2 separate regions of the Homo sapiens genome follow, and region 2 is linked to region 1. Evidence: promoter capture Hi-C in human tissues and cell types (Jung and others, 2019). All regions are on one chromosome and are shown on one strand. Each heading gives the region's core, a stretch centred on a gene start or on the middle of the fragment in contact. The rest is flanking DNA. Distances are from core to core; before and after follow the strand shown.

Region 1 (7,426 bases), core at 443-2,942:
GAATATAATTATAAATAAGGAAGGCCAGGACACCAAGCTCTTAGCAGCTGAAAGGCAAACAATTTTACACTATATTAAAGCTAAGTTGGCACACCGCGGATGTTCTTCATGCTTTCCCTCTGGCAATCACACCTCTTCAGCCTCCACTGCCCAGCGTAAAATGAATCCCTCATGCTCTCAGCCACACCAGGCACTCACCAAACACGAAATTGTCTGGTCTGAAGATCTGGCCGAATGGTCCAGACCTAACCGAATCCATCGTGCCTGGCTCCAGATCCACGAGGATGGCCCGAGGAACATATTTGTTACCTGCAAGGAACAACAGTGACTTAGACCCTCAGGCAAGGACCTCTGCAGAGAAGGGCTTGGCGCCTGCTGCCATCATGCAGATGTTGCCCCAAACAAAGGGAGACCCACCATCAGGTTCTCAAAGGGCTCTGTTGGCATAAGGAAGCCCAATGAAATACTGCAGGGAAAGAGCGGGGATCCTAAACTGAATAGTCCACCCTCTCCCAGGGCCACACCCCTGGGGTCCCACGCAAGGGAAAGGGGAGAAGGTGGAAAAACTGAAGGGAGTGGGGGTGGGGCAAGGGTGATTACCAGTGGCTTCATTGTAGTAAACATTGATTCTCTCCAGCTGCAAATCACTGTCTCCATGGTAACTGCCAGTGGGGTCAATCCCATGCTCATCACTGATGACCTCCCAAAACTGAGACAGAAAGGCTGCATTTAGCCATGAACGATGCCCCCAGAAACGCCAAGGCTCACAATGAAATGTCCCCGACTCAGTTCCGACAACCCAACATTTCAGGAGCTTGAAGCTTTAAAGGGCGTCGTGACCCGGGCACAGCCGCGGGGCTTGTATTTTGCAGGTTCAGAAAGTTGAAACTGGGCGTTTCCCAGGCAAACAGCTGCCGCTCGCGGGGGGAGGTAGGGGTCGAGGGGGTAAGGACCAGCCAAAGCCGGGCAGTGGCGGAGCTTGGCGCACTGGTCGCAGCCCCAGGCTGCGGCAGGAGGCGAGGGCACAGGGACTGCAGCCCGCCAGGAGCGGGTGGGCGGGGAAAGAGGAACGCAAAGGAGCTAAAGGACCGCGGTTTTAGATTCAAAGCACGTCCTGAGACCGCAAGACAATCGCTCTCCTCCCCTCCCCCGGCAGCTCGACTCCGGTTCAAGCGAGTACAATTAATCCTCCTGGTGTCCCAGCCCCTCGCGCGGAGCGCCGCGCACAGCCTCGCGGACACACCCTCGTCTTCTCCAGGCACGCGTGCCTGCCAAGCAGCCAGCGCGGAGGGAGGCCGAGGGGGTGACGGGGACTCCAAATGAGTTACAGCAGAAAGAAAGAGAGGTGCCCCCTCCGTCCGCGAAAGTCACCTCCTAGCCCAGGCCACACTCGGCGGCACAAAGCGGCCAGGAAGGTCTGCATTTGGCGATCCCCAGGCCTTCCCAGGACCGCGCCTGGGGACCCCGAGGGGCTCTCGGCCCAGGTTCGCGCCCCCATTGGACCCCCTCCGCTGCGGCGCGCCCACCTTGGCGCCGATCTGGTTGCCGCACTGGCCCGCCTGGATGTGCACGATCTCACGCATGGTGCCTCGTCAGCGTCCTCCTGGTCCGGCGGCGTCTGGGTCTGTCCGTCCTCCCCTCACACACCCACTGCGGGGTCACCGGGAAGGCGCTCGGGAACCGACGGGCTGAGAGCGCCGGCCCCGCGGGCTCCGGCTTTTATGCAAGGAGGGTGGGGCGGCCGGCACAGGCCGCGCCCCCAGCCCGAGCCCCCCAGTCCCCTTCGCGCTGGCGCTCTCCAGGCCCGGCTGACGTAATGCTCCGAGCCCTAGGGACCGTCCGGGGGGCTGGACCACCGGCCCGCGGCCAATCAGAGCGGGCGTGCCGACCGGGAGAGGGGTGGGGGCTACCGGGAGTATGGTGGGGGCGTGCGCATTGTCTGGGGCTGTGGTGGGGGTCTGGGTATGGGGATATGGGGGAACAGTGAAGAAAAGGAGGGTGAGAGGGCGGCGAGGCGAGGGCCACCAGCGCGTCCTGACCGGGGTGGGGGCAGAGCTGGCACCGGATGGGAACGATGGAGGACTGGAGCATGTGGAGAAGCCGTCAGGTGCTCCAGTGCCGGCAGGTGGGAGGGCTGAGGTGGCACAGGCTGCTCCGCCACCTCGGACTGCGGCTCCTACTCGGCCACTGGCCAGAGTCCCTCCAGCCAACTGCCCCTGGTGAGACCACCGTCTTTTTCCTCAACCCTGGAGGCCAGCGACTGCCCAGGCGGCGCTCCGTCTCACAGAGGCCTGGGGGAGGACAGGTGGCCCCAGAAGGAAGTCGTGCTTGATGGCAACCGGGACACCTGCGGCCCATGAACACCAGCGCGGCCTCCGCCCCCGCCCCAGCGTGGGCCTGCTTTCTCCTTTGTCTGTCTTGGGCTGGTAGCTCCTCTCACTGCGCCGCAGCATCTAGGGGTGAAGCGACCTCGGAGCCCCTCAGCCCTGCCCGACCCTCTCCGGGAGTGCATAACGCCCCTGCTGGTACCCAGGAGCCCTCTGCCCCGGGGGTTGACTTTTGTTGCTCGCTAGTGATGGAGTGGGAGTGGCCGGTGGCGCTGCACTGACCGTCCGGAGGGCAGAAAGAGGGTGGGGTCCCGGGGGCGGGGCTGTCGGCGGAACAAAGGGCTCTCAGAAACGTGGGATACGCTGTGTAACCCAGTATTTAAAACCACACGACAGGCGCCCCACCCCCCCACCCCGCCCTCGGATTCAGTTCATCTATTGTCAAGTAAGAGGGTGGGTTCCAAGGGTGGCCCAAGCCCGAGTAACAAACTTTCTTATCTTCCATCGCGGCGACCTGGAGGTCCGAGGCTTCGTGCTGCGGTTGAAGGGTGGGGAATACGACTAAAAACTGCAGCCCAGCGCGCGCGAGACGACCCAAGACCCACGCGCACTCGCACGAGCGCGTGCACAGACTTGGAGCACAGACCCTCCCTTCAGATCCGCAGTCTCTAGGTACTGAGGCAGGAACTGGTCTCTTTGTTACTTTTCGCGCGCGCGTGTGTGTGTGTGTGTGTGAGAGAGAGAGAGAAAGAGAGAGAGAGAGAGACTAATCCTGCGTGCGTTTGAGGGCGGGAGGGGAAAGGGTGTCAGAAACGTTCACTGCACAACCTGTTCCCTGCAATTCGATGACTGAAGCGCGCCGCCCCACACTTCGGAAGGGCCGTTGGCGAGGTGACGTGACCTCTTTCATCCCCTGGCGAGAAAGGCCGAATGACCCGGGCGCACGCGGCGGAGCTCAGCCTGCAGCTGTTGAGCGAGACCCTCCCAGAACTATCAGCAAGCTGTCATCGCCTCCCTTTCCCGCTGTGGGGTGGAGGGTGGGGGGTTCAAGTCGATTCCAATGTACAAAGAGAAGTAGCGAGAACAAAAGCCCAGGCGCCCCCAAACATCCAGGGCGCCCAGACTGGAGCTCGCCGGCCGGTATTCCAGACCCGGCCGGCGTGCCCGGGTGAGGGTGGGGTCTACCGAGAGGCAGAGAGCAGCGGAGGGTCTGTCCACATGCCCTGCTCTCCCGGTACCAAGGTCTCGGGGCCTGACCTCCGAGTTTCTAATCCAGATCCTGCAGATGCCGAAACGTCGAGGGCTAGCAATTCCCAAGGTCATACAGCAAGTTGAGGACAGGGCTCGGACTGGAATCTCGTCTTTTGGGCACACCAGACCTCAGGGAAAGTGACCGCATCTCGGCCAAAAGGGCTGTGGCAGGTGTCAGCCTCGAGGTGGCGGCTCTGGTGGGACCAAGCTGCGCCGGAAGGAACAGAGCTAGGGCGGCACCCGCGCGGCGAGTGTAGACACACTCGGAGCGGTCACCCCCTCGCTGCGAGCTCCCAGGAGCAACCCTGATGCTCAGCGCTGGGGGGTGGGGTTGGGGGCCGCTCAGCTCCATGCTGAGTAACTTGAGCTGGCCGCCTGCCTCCTTCATCTAACCAATTCATTTCTCAGCTTCTGTTTCCGAGCCAAATCTCCATTCAGTGCCCGGGTGAAAACGCGTGTTCAAGATCATATAGATAGATGAAAAGACCCTTTCCTCTCAGGTTTCTTTTAAAGGGGTTGGTTTGGGATAGGATGAGGCTGGAAATCATCCTTCTGAAAGCCCAGAGTGCCCTTGGGGACACTTTTGGCCCAAGATCTGCTTTCCTTTCAAGCATTTTGCTCGAATTGTCCCCACACCCCTGCCCCTTCCGGGCAGCCAGTCTTGTTAACCGGTCTACATCGCACCCCCACCCCCACCCCCACTGGAATTGTGATGCTGCACATTTTTATTTTCACAAGGAGCCGATTTTGTGTTAAAATGTTGACAACAGCCACACCTTTCCCTGAAGTCTTTCAGTTTATCTGATAACCCTTAAACAAAAAAATCATTCTTAATCCATGTAGCTCGCATAAAGAGACTGGTACCCGGCTTTCAAAGAAAAAAAAAGTCGTTTTCAGTTGGGTCCCCAGCATTTCTGTCTATTCATTATATGCAATGCGTCTCAATCTAGGTCATCGTATATCAGGCACGAAGATTTCGGGGCAACATATTTCATGATCTCTTAATGTTAGTCTTGATGATGTACTAACATTTAAAAATTTTCCCTTCCAGAGACAATTGTAGAAATATTGCTGCATAAAATACAATTCAACATTTGTTTTATACGTAATCTATTGCGTGACTGAGGTGAGCAAGATATCCCTTAAACTATTAAAATTATATTTGCTTTCACAATTTTCAGATTACTTTCAACGGCATGTCCTCAAGTGAATTTGCATTTCTCTATTACACACACAGTCATTGTTTGAAGAAGTCTGATAGAAAAGAGGCTTTATATAGTAGTAAATTTTTAAAGCACTGTTTTCATAATGTAGCATATATTTTTGACACATTTATTGAAATTACTAGACATTTAGCATTAGGGTTCTTCACTGCTTGCCAGGATTCACCGCTTAAAACCCCAAAAACCCAGCCCGCAGCCCCCATAGCTGGCTCTGCAGCCGAGATGCACGCGGTTTCCTAGGCAACCGACACTTAGCCAATGAATGAAGAGGAGTTGAAAGAAAGAGACTGCAAATCCATCATTATTTCCTTACACACACACACGCACACACACACACACACACACACACACACACATCACCTCTTCTCATAGCTCTCCATTTAGAAATATTGGAAAGCTACCAATCCTAGCATTTATGTAAAAGAGCCAAATGCCCGGGGCATGGGGGCTAGGAAGCGGTCGCAGCCCCATACTGTGACTGCGGAAAGGACACAGTGGAGGAAGCTCCCGGGATCCGCCAAGATCTGCGCCTTCTCAGCTTTGTCGCTCCCCAGTTTCTATTCCATTGCCCTCCCCCTTCCCCCCAGGCCTTCCCTCCTCCGCCTGGGAAGCCAGCGGCCCCGGCGGAGCTGCCCGGCACTGTTTAGTCGCAGGGGCTGCGGGGTGGCAGCCTCAGAGCCCTGTCCTTCCGCAGCCGTGGGCCCCGCAGGGACCAGCCAAGCAGGGCAACCAAAAGCTGGAACCAGCAGCGAAAACCCCGAGCCCACGAACGCAGCGCAGTGCGGGAACACTTGCCCTTTGTTCCTCAGTAAGGCCGGGTGTTTTCGCATCCCCGGAGGTTGTGAATTTGAGTTATAATGGCCTCGGTCGGGACTGAGAGAGCCGAGCTTCCACGAGAGAGCTTTGCCTGCTTTGTCCTACAAATCGGCGGAGGGAGTAGCATCCTGGCTTTTCTAGGGCGCCATTTCCCTGCTACAGGCAATCTCCCCTCCCCCACGCTGTCAATGATTTGTGGGATTCTTAGGCAGGCGGGGCAGGCCGAGCCCAGGGAATGCACGCTGAGTCCTAGACACAGAGCCAGGCCGGGTGGAAAACAAAAAGAGAAGAAGTGATTATGAAATAATAAGACGGACCGTGTGCCCCTTGCAAGGTGCGGCCTGCGAAATCAACAGACTTATAAATAAGGTCTGGTGGAAGCGCAGGAGCGCACGCGGGAGGCTATGGCGGGGGAACCTCTGTGAGTTCCGCGGCGGAGGCTAGAACATCGCTGTGGCTGCGGGACCCTCACCCGGCGCTGAAAACCCTCCACATCAGCTCCTGCTCGGAAATGTCTCCGCAGCTCACCAGTGCTTTTCGAAATCTGCCCAAGACCTTTGTTTGCCATTTAAATGAAATGAAAACGTGCGTATCCAGGTGGACACATCCATGCAGCAACACCCCTGCCTCTGGGCTCTAGATGCTTGGTGGGCGGGCAGTCACTGTGGCCACACTGCAGAGACAGCAGTGCAGTTTCCAAACGGAGTTCTTTGGGCTTCACATGCCCAGCCTGCTTCTTTTTTAAAATTTCTATTTTAATTTTAGATTCAGGGAGTCCATGTGCGGGTTTATTACGAGGGTATATTGCATGATGCTGAGCGTCCGGGCTTCTATCGACCTGGTTACCCAGATAGTGAACGTAGTACCCAATAGGGAGTTTTTCAGCCCTTGCTCTGCTCCTTCCTTCTCTCCTTTTGGAGTCCTCAGCGTCTATTGTTCCCATCTTTTTGTCCGTGTGCACCCAATATTTAGCTCCCACTTATAAGTGAGAACATGCAGTATTTAGTTTTCTGTTTCTGTATTATTTCGCTTAGGATAATGACCTTCAGCTGCATCCATGTTGCTGCCAAGGACGTGATTTTGTTTTCTTTTTTTTAAGGGCTGTGTAGTATTCTGTGGTGTGTGTGTACCACATTTTCTTAATCCATTCCACCATTGATGGGCACCTAGGTTGATTCCATGTCTTTGCTATTGTGAATAGTGCTATGAGGAACACAGGAGCTCATGTGTCTTTTTGGTAGAATGATTTTTTTGGGGCGGGGGGTATATACCCAGTAATGGGACTGCTGGGTTGAATGGTAGTTCTATTTTTAGTTCTTTGAGAAATCTCCAAACTGCTTTCCACAGTGGCCGAACTAATTTACATTCGCACCAACAGCAAATAAGCATTCCTTTTTCTCTGCAGCCTTGCCAATATCTGTTTTTTTTTGTTTTGTTTTGTTTTTACTTTTTAATAATAATGACTGCTGTGAAGTGGTATCTCATTGTGATTTTGATTTACATTTTCCTAATGATCAGTATGTTGAGCATTTTTTTCATGTTTGTTGGCCACTTGTATGTCTTCTTTTGAAAAATGTCTGTTCATATCCTTTGCTCTCTTTTTAATGGGGTTATTGATTCTTTTCTTGCTGATTTAAGTTCCTTATAAATTCTGGATATTAGTCCTTTGTCTGCGGCATATTGCAAATATTTTCTCCCATTCTGTAGGTTGTTCATACATCTCCATCAACTCTGTATTGCTTATAGTATGTGGTCCAAACACTTATCATACAATTCAGGTCCTTCAGTCTGGACATTACCTACCTTTCC
Region 2 (7,426 bases), core at 2,437-4,936, 55 kb before region 1:
TACAAACTCTCCTTACAATTCCCCCATTTTACCTGTCCAAAAACCGGACAAGTCTTACAGATTAGTTCAGGATCTGCGCCTCATCAATCAAATTGTTTTGCCATCCATCCTGTGGTGCCCAACCCGTACACTCTTTCGTTCTCAATACCTTCCTCCACAACTCACTATTCCGTTCTTGATCTTAAAGATGCTTTTTTCACTATTCCCCTGCACCCCTCGTCCCAGCCTCTCTTTGCTTTCACCTGGACTGACCCTGGCACCCATCAGTCCCAGCAGCTTACCTGGGCTGTGCTGCCGCAAGGTTTCAGGGACAGCCTTCATTACTTCAGCCAAGCTGTTTCTCATGATTTACTTTCTTTCCACTCCCCCGCTTCTCACCTTATTCAATATATTGATGACCTTCTTCTTTGTAGCCCCTCCTTTGAATCTTCTCAACAAGACACCCTTCTGCTCCTTCAGCATTTATTCTCCAAAGGATATCTGGTATCCCCCTCCAAAGCTCGAATTTCTTCTCCATCTGTTACCTACCTTGGCATAATTCTTCATAAAAACACACTGCTCTCCCTGCCAATCATGTCCTACTGATCTCTCAAACCCCAACCCCTTCTACAAAACAGCAACTCCTTTCCTTCCTAGGCATGGTTGGATACTTTCAACTTTGGATACCTGGTTTTGCCATCCTACCAAAACCATTATATAAACTCACAAAAGGAAACCTAGTTGACCCCATAGATCTTAAATCCTTTTCCCACTCCTCTTTCCGTTCCTTGAAGACAGCTTTAGAGACTGCCCCCACTCTAGCTCTCCCTGACTCATCCCAACCCTTTTCATTACACACAGCCTAAGTGCAGGGCTGTGCAGTCGGAATTCTTACACAAGGACTGGGATCACGTCCTGCAGCCTTTTTGTCCAAACAACTTGACCTCAATGTTTTAGGCTGGCCATCATGTCTCCGTGCAGCGGCTCCTGCTGCCCTAATACTTTTAGAGGCCCTCAAAATCACAAACTATGCTCAACTCACTCTCTACAGCTCTCATAACTTCCAAAATCTATTTTCTTCCTCACACCTGACCATATACTTTCTGCTCCCCAGCTCCTTCAGCTATACTCACTCTGTTGAGTCTCCCACAGTTACCATTGTTCCTAGCCTGGACTTCAATCCGGCCTCCAACATTATTCCAGATACCACACCTGACCCTCATGACTGCCTCTCTGATCCACCTGACATTCACCCCATTTCCCCATATTTCCTTCTTCCCTGTTCCTCACCCTGATCACATTTGGTTTATTGATGGCGGTTCCACCAGGCCTAATCGCCACTCACCAGCAAAGGCAGGCTATGCAATAGTATCTTCCACATCTATCATTGAGGCTACCGCTCTGCCCCCCTCCACTACCTCTCAGCAAGCCGAACTAGTTGCCTTAACTCGGGCCCTCACTCTTGCAAAGGGACTACGCATTAATATTTATACTGACTCTAAATATGCCTTCCATATTCTGCACCACCATGCAGTTATATGGGCTGAAAGAGGTTTTCTCACTACGCAAGGTCCTGCATCATTAATGCCTCTTTAATAAAAACTCTGCTCATGGCCGCTTTACTTCCAAAGGAAGCTGGAGTCATTCACTGCAAGGGGCATCAAAAGGCGTCCGATTGAGAGGTGACAGCGTGCTGGCAGTCCTTACAGCCCTCGCTCGCTCTGGGCGCCTCCTCTGCCTGGGCTCCCACTTTGGCGGCACTTGAGGAGCCCTTCAGCCCGCCGCTGCACTGTGGGAGCCCCTTTGTGGGCTGGCCAAGGCCAGAGCTGGCTCTGTCAGCTTGCGGGGAGGTGTGGAGTGAGAGGCGCGAGCGGGAACCGGGGCTGTAGGCGGCGCTTGCGGGCCAGCTAGAGTTCCAGGTGGGCGTGGGCTTGGTGGGCCCCGCACTCGGAGCAGCCAGCCGGCCCTGCCGGCCCCAGGCAATGAGGGGCTTAGCACCAGGGCCAGCGGCTGCAGAGGGTGTACTGGGTCCCCCAGCAGTGCCAACCCACCGGCGCTATGCTCGATTTCTCACCGGGCCTTAGCTACCTCCCCGCGGGGCAGGGCTGTACCTGCAGCCCACCATGCCTGAGCCTCCCACCCTCTCCATGGGCTCCTGCGCGGCCCCAGCCTCCCCGATGAGCGCCGCCCCCTGCTCCACAGCACCCAGTCCCATCAACCACCCAAGGGCTGAGGAGTGCGGGCGCAGGGCGTGGGACTGGCAGGCAGCTCTACCTGCAGCCCCGGTACAGGATCCACTGGGTGAAGCCAGCTAGGCTCCTGAGTCTGGTGGGGACGTGGAGAACCTTTATGTCTAGCCCAGGGATTGCAAATACACCAATCGGCACTCTGTATCTAGCCCAAGGTTTGTAAACACACCAATCAGCACCCTGTGTCTAGCTCACGGTTTGTGAATGCACCAATCAACACTGTATCTAGCTACTCTGGTGGGGCCTTGGAGAACCTTTGTGTCGACACTCTGTATCTAGTTAATCTGGTGGGGACGTGGAGAACCTTTGTCTAGCTCAGGGATTGTAAACGCACCAATCAGCACCCTGTCAAAACAGACCACTAGGCTCTACCAATCAGCAGGATGTGGGTGGGGCCAGATAAGAGAATAAAAGCAGGCTGCCTGAGCCAGCAGTGGTAACCCACGACAGTTCTCTTCCACGCCGTGGAAGCTTTATTTTTTCGCTCTTTGGGTCCACACTGTTTTTATTGAGCTGTAACACCATGAAGGTTTGTAGCTTCACTTAAGCCAGCGTAGACCATGAGCCCCCTGGGAGGAACAAACAACTCTGGATGCGCTGCCTTAAAGAGTTCTTAACACTCACTGTGAAGGTCTGCAGCTTCACTCCTGAGCTAGTGAGACGACGAACACATCCGTAACAGCAGAAACAAACTCTGGATGCACCACCTTAAGAGCTGTACCACTCACTTCGAGGGTCTGTGGCTTCATTCTTGAAGTCAGTGAGACCAAGAATCCACCAATTCCAGACACATAGATCCTATTGCTCTAGGCAACGCTTATGCTGATGAGGTGGCTAGACAAGCAGCTAGCATTCCAACTTCTGTCTGTCATGGCCAGTTTTTCCCCCTACACGTTGGTCACTCCCACTTACTCCCCCGCTGAAACTTCCACCATATCAATCTCTTCCCACACAAGGCAAATGGTTCTTAGGCCAAGGAAAATATCTCCTTCCAGCCTTACAGGCCCATTCTATTCTGTCATCATTTCATAACCTTCCATGTAGGTTACAAGCCGCTAGCCCGTCTCTCAGAACCTCTCGTTTCCTTTCCATCATGGAAATCTATCCTCAAGGAAATAACTTCTCAGTGTTCTATCTGCTATTCTACTCAGGGATTGTTCAGGCCCCCTCCCTTCCCTACACATCAAGCTCGGGGATTTGCCCCTGCCCAGGACTGGCAAATTGACTTTACTCACATACCCTGAGTCAGAAAACTAAAATACCTCTTGGTCTGGGTAGACACTTTCACTGGATGGGTAGAAGCCTTTCCCACAGGGTCTGAGAAGGCCACCGCGGTCATTTCTTCCCTTCTGTCAGACATAATTCCTCGGTTTGGCCTTCCCACCTCTATACAGTCTGATAACGGACCAGCCTTTATTAGTCAAATCACCCAAGCAGGTTTTCAGGCTCTTAGTATTCAGTGAAACCTTCGTATCCGTCACCGTCCTCAATCTTCAGGAAAGGTAGAACAGACTAATGGTCTTTTAAAAACAGAACTCACCAAGCTCAGCCACCAACTTAAAAAGGACTGGACAATACTTTCACCACTTTCCCTTCTCAGAAGTCAGACCTGTCCTCGGAATGCTACAGGGTACAGCACATTTAAGCTCCTGTATAGACGCTCCTTTTTATTAGGCCCCAGTCTCATTCCAGACACCAGACCAACTTGGACTGCACCCCAAAAAACTTGTCATCCCTACTATCTTCTGTCTAGTCATACTCCTATTCACCGTTCTCAACTACTCATAAATGCTCTGCTCTTGTTTACACTGCCCTTTTTCACTGTTTCTCCAAGCCATCACAGCTGATATCTCCTGGTGCTATCCCGAAACTGCCACTCTTAACTCCCTGTTAAAGTAAATAAATAATCTTTGCTGGCAGGACTATGCTGAACCTCCTTAGGCACTCTCTAATTGGATGTCCAGGGTCCTCCCAATTCTTAGTCCTTTAATACCTGTTTTTCTCCTTCTTATTCCGTTCTTTTTTCAATTCATATAAAACCGTATCCAGGCCATCACCAATAATTCTATACGACAAATGTTTCTTCTAACAACCACACAATATCACCCCTTACCACAAAATCTTCCTTCAGCTTAATCTCTCCCATGCTAGGTTCCCACGCCACCCCTAATCCCAGCCCTGAGAAACATCGCCCATTATCTCTCCATACCACCCCCAAAAATTTTCACCACCCCAACACTTTGCCACTATTTCATTTTATTTTTCTTATTAATATAAGAAGACAGGAATGTCAGGCCTCTGAGCCCAAGCTAAGCCATCATATATTCTGTGACCTGCACATACACATCCAGATGGCCGGTTCCTGCCTTAACTGATGACATTCCACCACAAAAGAAGTGAAAATGGCCTGTTCCTGCCTTAACTCATGACATTATCTTGTGAAATTCCTTCTCCTGGCTCATCCTGGCTCAAAAGCTCCCCCACTGAGCACCTTGTGACCCCCACTCCTGCCCACCAGAGAACAACACCCTTTGACTATAATTTTCCTTTACCTACCCAAATCCTATAAAACGGCCCCACCCCTATCTCCCTTTGCTGACTCACTTTTCGGACTCAGCCCGCCTGCACCCAGATGAAATAAACAACCTTGTTGCTCACACAAAGCCTGTTTGGTGGTCTCTTCACACGGACGCGAGTGAAACTGGGTTCAAGCGATTCTCCTGCCCCAGCCTCCCAAGTAGCCGGGATTACAGGCATGCACCACCATGCCTGGCTAATTTTGTATTTTTCGTAGAGATGGAGTTTCACCATATTGGCCAGGCTGGTCTTGAACTCCTGACCTCAGATGATCCGCCCACCTCAGCCTTCCAAAGTGCTGGGATTACAGGTGTGAGCCACTGCGCCCAGCTTATAATTTTTTTTTTTTTTTTTTTTTAAGAGACAGTGCCCTGCTCTGTTATCCAGGAAGGAGTGTGGTGGCATGATCATGGATTACTGCAACTTTGAACTCCTGGGCTCAAGTGATCCTCCTGCCTCAGTCTCCCAAAGTGCTGGGATTACAGGTGTGAGCCACTGCACCTAGCCCCAAGGAAATAATTTAATACCAATCAATGAAGGCCTTTTTCTGATGAAAAGCTCTTTCAAGAATGTTTACGTGGAGCCACAGACTTTTCCTGGTTGTAAAGAACCTAAAGGTTGTATATTTAAAAATTAAAAGATATTCCAGCTGGGTGTGGTGGCTCATGCCTGTAATGCCAGCACTTTGGAAGGCCGAGGCGGGTGGATCATGAGGTCAGAAGATCGAGACCATCCTGGCTAACACAGTGAAACCCCATCTCCACTAAAAATACAAAAAATTAGCCAGGTGTGGTGGCGGGTGTCTGTAGTCCCAGCTACTCAGGAGGCTGAGTCAGGAGAATGGCGTGAACCTGGGAGGCGGAGCTTGCTGTGAGCCAAGATCGCGCCACTGCATTCCAGCCTGGGCGACAGATCGAGACTCAGTCTCGGAAAAAAAAAAAAAAAAAAAAATTAAAAGATAGTCCAAGATTATCATGGCTTCTCTATGCAGAATCCCTGATGGGAAGTTATACAGCCTATCCCTGAACACCTCCCTTGACAAGGTGCTCCTACAGAGCCAGTGATTGCACACATATGTGACAAGTAATTTACATGTGCATTTCATTTAATCCTCATAATAATTGCCTTCTGAAGTGGCTACCATGATCACCATTTTTTGGACAAAGAAGGTATGGCTCAGAGAGATTAAAATCCTTGCCCAAGGCCATACAACTAGGAAGGAAAAAAAATAACTTACTTTAGGAACACAGGTTCATCTGTTCCAGAGGCTGTGCTGTTTCCACTCTGGGGTAGGCAGGACTCTAAGGTGGCCCAAGATTCACCTGGCTCGTGGTATATACTGTTGGCAAAATGAGTCAAACTCTGTAAAATATTCGAAGAGGTTTATTCTGAGCCAAATATGAGTGACTAATGGCCCATGATACCGTCCTCAGGAGGTCTTGAGAACATGGGCCCAAGGTGGTCAGGGTCCAGTTTGCTTTTATACATTTTAGGGACACAGAAGGCGTCGATCAATACATATAAGATATACATTGGTTTGGTCTGGAAGGGTAGGACAACTGGAAGGAGGGGGGCTTCCAAGTCATAGATAGATTCAAAGGTTTTCTGACTGACAATATGTAGAAAGAGTTATCAATAGAATGCCTGGGTTATGATAAGGGATTGTGGAGACCAAGGTTTTGTCATGCAGATGAAGCCTTCAGGTAGCAGGCTTCAGAGAGAATAGATTGTAAACGTTTCTCATCAGACTTTAAGAGTCTGTTCTATCAGCATTTCCAAACGGGAGGAGGGAATGCAGAGACATGTCCAGCTCCCACTTCCCATCATTGCCTGAATGAGTTTTTCAGGTTAACTTTGAATGACCTTGGCTGAGAGGAGGGTTCCATTCAGATGGTTGGGGGGGCCTTAGAATTTTATTTTTGTTTTACAACACTCACCTTTTCCCGGTTGTTCAATCAAGCATAAATCTAGGTACTGCTGTGACAGGATTTTGCAGGTGCAATTAAGTTTCCAAGTCAGTTGACCTTAAGATAGAGAGATGATCTCATTGGCCTCCCCTAATCACATGAGCCCTTTTGAAGAAGAAGATTTCTCCACCCATTGACAGACAGGATATTCGAGTTTGGAAGCAGTAGAGACCCCCTCCTGATGACCTTGAAGGATCCGATAGCCTGCTATGGAGAGGGCCATGTGGCAGGGAACAGAAGGCAGCCCCCAGGAGCAGGAAGCAGCCTCTGCTCAAAGGCCAGCAAGAAAACGGGAACCTCGGCCTATGACCGTGAGGACCTGGCCCCTGCTGAGCACGTGAGCAAGCATGGGAGAGGCCCCTGAGCTCCTGATGAGTGCAGCCCTCCCAGACCTGCTGGACTCCCAAGCAACGGAAACTGTAAGGTGATCCTGGTGCGTTAAGCTGCTGACTTTGTGGTAACCTGTTAAAATAGCAAACTGGTAGACGAGTTCTTCTTTGATGAGTGATGTAGGTCAGGTGCCCCAAAGCACGCCTTGAGGCTAGGATCTGAGTGGAAGGTGATGAGGGCAGTGTCTGTCCTGGGAAGCGTTGGAAGTGCTGTGGGGAACAGAGCCAGGAAAGAGAAGGAAGCCAAGGGGCTGCCTCAGAACAG

The links. The method cuts DNA at HindIII sites, captures the fragments that hold promoters and counts their contacts. A contact is called where the count stands out against the background at its distance.
Region 2: a fragment that was not itself captured here is called in contact with the fragment with the promoter of TUBB2B in region 1 in 3 of the 25 tissues and cell types used here (H1 embryonic stem cells, mesenchymal stem cells and stomach).

Annotation. Positions count from the first base shown.
Region 1 is chr6:3,225,961-3,233,386 of GRCh38, forward strand. TUBB2B (tubulin beta 2B class IIb) reads right to left here and starts at 1,693. Exons shown (of 4, transcript NM_178012.5): 1 at 1,527-1,693; 2 at 601-709; 3 at 199-309. The coding sequence starts at 1,583. LOC100422781 (a long non-coding RNA gene) reads left to right here and starts at 5,443. Exons shown (of 2, transcript NR_147505.1): 1 at 5,443-6,202. RefSeq lists enhancers at 676-1,336, 1,337-1,995, 3,291-3,847, 5,840-6,622 and a silencer at 1,600-1,889. The HindIII fragment of the contact is 16,967 bases long and covers 1-7,426 here.
Region 2 is chr6:3,168,930-3,176,355 of GRCh38, forward strand. No RefSeq gene overlaps it. Among named protein-coding and RNA genes, the nearest start is that of TUBB2A, 15 kb to the left of the region's middle. The HindIII fragment of the contact is 5,079 bases long and covers 1,148-6,226 here.